2 separate regions of the Homo sapiens genome follow, and region 2 is linked to region 1. Evidence: promoter capture Hi-C in human tissues and cell types (Jung and others, 2019). All regions are on one chromosome and are shown on one strand. The core of a region is centred on a gene start or on the middle of the fragment in contact, and the rest is flanking DNA. Distances in the headings are between cores, read along the strand shown.

The links. Contacts are between HindIII fragments. The study calls those that stand out against the background at their distance.
Region 2: a fragment that was not itself captured here is called in contact with the fragment with the promoter of TFAP2B in region 1 in 4 of the 25 tissues and cell types used here (H1 embryonic stem cells, liver, neural progenitor cells and 1 more).

Annotation. Positions count from the first base shown.
Region 1 is chr6:50,817,602-50,820,301 of GRCh38, reverse strand. TFAP2B (transcription factor AP-2 beta) reads right to left here and starts at 1,431. Exons shown (of 7, transcript NM_003221.4): 1 at 1,330-1,431. The coding sequence starts at 1,410. LOC124901490 (a long non-coding RNA gene) reads left to right here and starts at 1,276. Exons shown (of 2, transcript XR_007059923.1): 1 at 1,276-1,400; 2 at 2,658-2,700. The HindIII fragment of the contact is 7,987 bases long and covers 1-2,700 here.
Region 2 is chr6:50,715,187-50,717,958 of GRCh38, reverse strand. TFAP2D (transcription factor AP-2 delta) reads right to left here. Exons shown (of 8, transcript NM_172238.4): 2 at 2,346-2,772. Among named protein-coding and RNA genes, the nearest start is that of TFAP2D, 3.0 kb to the right of the region's middle. RefSeq lists enhancers at 1-428, 2,169-2,699. The HindIII fragment of the contact is 3,132 bases long and covers 1-2,772 here.

The DNA of each region.
Region 1 (2,700 bases), core at 182-2,681:
CTCTTAGGATCTTCGAGGCGGCTCTGCGCCGGGCTTTCAGGAGCTGTCCCGATCCGGAGGGGTCGCGTGTCTTTCTCGGCTCTTTGGGGAGCCTCTGCATCCCTCCACCTTTCGTCTGACCTAGCGGCCCGCGCCCGCCACCCGGGAGTCTGCTTCTCTTCCTTCCTTTTCTCTCCAACTTTTCCTCTTAGCAATCTCCATGGCCCGCTTCGCCCGCCTCGACTTCCCTCCTTTTCTAAATCCGCTTCGCCTTTCCGAAGTTTTTATTTCCAACCTCGACGTCTCAGCAGAACCTTCCCTTCCTCCCTTCCCCTGGCAACCACCTGGGGCTGTCCCAGACCATTCCGCTTAAAAGCGAGGCTCCGCGGGCTTCCCGGTCCCCAGCCTGGCCCGCCGCGCGCCCCGCGCCTCGCCCGCCTCGGCCGCCTCTCCCACCTCGCCCGCCTCTCCCACCTCGCCCGCCTCGGCCGCCTCGTCCGCCTAGTCCGCCTCGCCCGCGAGTAGCGGAGCCGTCTGGCCGCGTCAGCCCTCGCCCGAGCCGGAAAAGGGCTTTGGCGAGCGCGGTCCGGGCCCCGGAGGCGGCTGGCGTCCTCCTGGCTGGGCGCAACTTCTCCTGCCCCGAAGAGTTGAGCTAGCCTCAGTGCTAGAGACCCGTACGCATTGAACGTGGGCAGAAATTTCCGTGAAAGATGCCCACACAGGAGGCGGCTGCGATTTCTGTTCGGACGCAGTGACCCTCAAGGAAGCAAAACACAAGAAAACAGAAACTAATAAACTGCTACGACTTCTATTTTGCTCTATCCATCCATATCTCCAGCCATCTACTTCTTTCCCGCTAATTCTCTGTCCTCTACTTGGAACCATTTGTTATCAATTTCAGAAATTTTATTGAAAATAAAAATTAAAAGCCCGAGTCTGTTACAAATGAGGCTTGAAAACCCAATTCTCTTCCACACTTAAAACGAGAAAAGCCCCTGACTTTATCAGAATCTCGATTTTCTCTGAGAGCGTGCCCACATTCAGTAGCACCACATTCCCCATCAGAGCTTAAAAGGGTGGGGTGGGGTGGGGGGAGGCGAGGAAAAGGGAAAGAAAAATAAAATAAATAAAAACATTCCTAAATTAAAGTTGTCAGATTTCAGCCTTAAAGTCCCTTTTCAGAGCAGCGAAGTCTTCCCTAGCCAGCTTTTCTAAAAGTTAAAAAAAGCTGAGAAAACCGACCGGAAATCTACGAGTAAATAGCTTAAAAATATATATCATTTGGGGTATCAAGAAGCTCAAATTCTCTATCTGCAAAGCTCTAAGGTGCATCTGGGGGTGTCGACTCACCTCATAGATATCTTCGTACTTGACATTCTCCACAAGCTTCCAGAGCATGATGGCAGCCTGGTCTCTAGGAGGTGAGTGCATTCATGTGAGGAGCAGATGTCTGGCTTCTCAGGACTCCGCTGTCTGTAATGATCCATCTATAATTGGAAATGGGGGATACACACCAAATCCGACGCTCCTCTCCCATCGCAACTTATATCTGTTGTCTCAAACAATAGGCTGGACAAGTAAGCCTCAGCAAAGAGAAAAAACATTATTGCACACACAGGAGTTAGATGCAACCCACAGACATATATACTATAAAAATCATAAACCCGTATTTACACCCAGACACCCACATATAGTTATATAAGCACCTCTGGGTCACACAGTCTGCAGACTCCAAATGTGCATTTAACAAAGAGTTGTTCAGGGTGATTAATATAATATATACATTTTATAACTTCTATATCGAAAATGACACATCATTGTAGCCACTAACTGAAGTCTTTGCAATTCATAATGAGAAACCAGGGGCCATCAGTCCCCTATTTTCTATGTAGATTTTAAAGGGGGACACTTACCAAGATTTTTAAACACAAAAGCTCCCTCCTATTCATGTATGTTCCGGAAGAGAGTATTTTGAAAGGCTGGATATGGGGGATTTTAAGGACTATCTCTGTGTTGATGGCTACACAACTTTTTTTTTTTTAACTTTATCTCTGTCACCATAGAACAAAAAAGCTAGCCACCGTTGATGACCATTTCTAATATTTTCTGGTCATTTTACCTAAAACCTTTGGAAACTTAAATACACCTCAGTTTGTGCTGCTTGTTATTTTAGGTGTTGTTTGTATGCATTTTCAACGGATTCCATGCACCATTCCTCTTGGCTGGAGTCTCCATTTTATCAAGTTTTTTTCAGATGTTGGAAGCAACGTACGCACACGTTCAGACAAGGTTAATTTTGAGCCTTTTTTGCAGAGGCCAAGGACATTTTATATTTGCATCTGTTGTGTATGACTTGTAAGTGGTTTTAATCATGGAGAGTCAAGAAAGGGCCACCCGAATCTTTGAAAAGGTTTAAGCAGAATGTCTTCAAAGAGATAGTGAAAAATATTTTAGTGCATGTGGAGTTTCTTCTTTTTTTTGTATAATTTTTCTTAATAAGATGATTCATATAGTTTTTAAAAAGGAAAACATCATCAGCAACAAGAACAATATTAACCAGACTTAGAAAATGGGCACCATTTAAGGCGCAGGGATTCTGAATTTTATCATGAAATGAATACTCATCTGTTCCCCTGTTCCCCCTTTCCCATCCCCTCTGTTTTTCTACTCCCTTTCAGGGTGCGGAGAGCTTCTCATAGCCGGAACAGACGCCCAGAAGAG
Region 2 (2,772 bases), core at 49-2,548, 100 kb after region 1:
TTCACTTAAAATTCTGTGCAGGGAAAAGTATATTTACATTTGTTGCATTTGAAATGAGGCATATGCTGATGAATGTTTTAAAAAGGAAGAAATAAAAGGAGAGAGACGGGTTTCTCCCACACACTCCCTCCCCATTTCTTGTTTTAAAAGTAGCTATGACTCTTTCTTTTTCATTCTGCCAACTTGGAGCAAGAACAGTGGAAGAAAATAACTTGTCAGATTTACAAACTTGCTACATAGCATTCATAGATTAAATAGATAAAGATGGATATATATTATGATATATACATACATGGATATATCTATGTAAAGGTATAAACGTATATCACACACAGTACTATATTTCTTCTAGTATCTTGGACTGTGTCCCTTAGTATGAGTAATTTTGCTTCAGTATGAGTAATAAAAGAGAAAAAGGACATTCGTATATGGAAAAAGAGATAGGCTGAAGAAAAGCTTTCAAAATATCTGAAATGTAGATGATAAATGGTCTCAAAGCTCTCCAAAGCAGTGAATCACTTTCCCTCCCACTCTCTGGCGCACGGTTACAATGTTTATTTTCTTAGAAGAAACGAATCTTGGTTTCTTCACTTAACAAACTTTTTCCCCTCATAAGTAAAACATGTTGTTTGGTCGGATGACATTGCATAAATGACCAGTTGAATGGCACTAAGTCGAAAATTGGATAAACTACGGTGTCCTTTTGCACGGGATTCGCTCTTTGTCTAGTGCTTGCAAATGTTCTAATCCGCTCTTTTGAAAAATGCTCGGCTTTGTGCCTAGCACAGAAAAAAAATTTGTACAGATACAAAAAAATCAGCAGCAGACGCGGCTATTAAAAGGAGTAAATAGGTTTTAGTTGAGCTAAGCACTGAATGGCAGATTTTTTTCCCTCTTGAGACATAAGGGGATCCTTGTGAAAAATGTAAAAATGCCCTGAGCGTATAAAATTATTTTGTGAATATAAATGTAGAAAGTCAAGGTTTATGGAACCAAATCTTTTTTCTTGTGCACCGGTCTTACTGCTATGGCTCTTTGTTGGGACTGTAAGGGCTTTCACTTTAATTTAAAAATAATCTCTTGCTCAAAGGTAAATGAGGAGGAAAGATTTTTTGTGCGCAACAAGGGATCTCTTACGTCTCCAACTTATGTTCTTAGAATATTTCCCTATTTGTCCTGGAGAGTGTGAAGAAGGTGGCCAGCTTTGTGCAGACACAAAAAGTAGGAACTCACAGGTAGAACTGCACTTTTAGCTAAAAGGAGCTAAAACTATGGGTCTTTTGAATTATTTTCTGGGTATTTGTGGGCTCATTTGTTTGAAATATGCCTATGGCAACATAATTGCATAATTATAAATTCTATCTTTGGTAAAGAATGTGCAAACACGTGTTAAGAAATAAAGTAGAAGAGAGATCATCTGATTGAGTGATGGCCTCCACAGTGTCTGAATACCTGCCTTCTTTCCTTCCTTCTTCTTTTTCTCCCTTCCTTCCTTCCTTTTCTCCTTCCTTCCTTCCTTCTTTATTTTTTCCCTCTTTCATTACCGTTACTGCCTCATTTTTATCTTTTTAAGGAGGTGCATTTTACGTAAAATGTAATGGCTGGAAGAGCAAAAATAAACTTGTAAATTACCTAACTGGGCTGCGGTTTTGAGTGCACGTCAGGCGGAGAGAATTAAACTCAACCCTACACCCTGGCAAAGTGCACTGTGCGGATTATTTCCTTGGGGTAGAACTTTGAGACTTTCATTTGCGATTCTTTACTTTCCACAGATATCTAGTGTATTTGGTGAAACTTTTGTTCAAGCTTAGGGTCCCAACAATTTCCTTAGAACAAGCCTGTTTGTAGTAAGATCTCCACAAGCTCAGTCTGAGACAAACACCTGGGACGCCTCGGAAGACCCTGTAAAGTGCGGAGATTGAGGGTACGATTGGTCATCAATTTATTGGATCTTACTCTGAGTCCGGTTGGCCCAACCCCAGACTCCTCGATCTCCTCCACCTCATCCCCTCAGGGTCACAAATGTTGATTCACAAAAGACTTCTGTGAGGACAAACCAAAGATGGAGGGCCGCAGCCGCCCGGACTCCCGCACTTCCAGGTGAAATGCTTGGATCCAATGAGAGGAAGAGAACGGGCACACTCCTCCTCTAATTGTTTTGATAACTTTCCATAAGTGGTGTGTGTGTGTGTGTGTGTGTGTGTGTGTGAGAGAGAGAGAGAGAGAGAGAGAGAGAGGAGAAGAGAGAGAGAAAGAGAGACGCTTTACAGTCGGAGCATTAATGGGGCGGCAGGGGGAGGGCGAAGAGGGGAGGGAGCAGACAAATTCGCTGCATGCTTATTTACCTGCAAGTCGTCTGCTCCCGCGGCGGCCAGCCCCAGGCTGGGCCCTGGCAGGAGTCTTTGATCTGGGTGCATTCCATACTGAGAGCCATGGCTCATGAGGGACAGGTCATGGCGGCGGTAGGCATCGAGGCAGCCCAGCTCCCGCCTCTGCTCGTCCAGGCAGGACGACTTGAGCGCCCGCGCATTGTGCAGGTTAATAAAGTCGGTGGGCTCCCCGTGGTGGATCTGCTGGTAGTACTGTTGCGAGTGGTGGAGAGAGTTCAGAGAGTAGGCGTCGGGGGTGACGGCCGGGTGGCTGTGCTGAAACTCGTAATGGAAGGACTGGTGGTGGAGCGGGGTGTACTGGTGGTTAGTGGAGAAGTAGGGGGACGCAAACTCGGTGCCGGTGGTGGAGTAAGTTAAAGGAGAGGAGGAGGAATAGGCGACA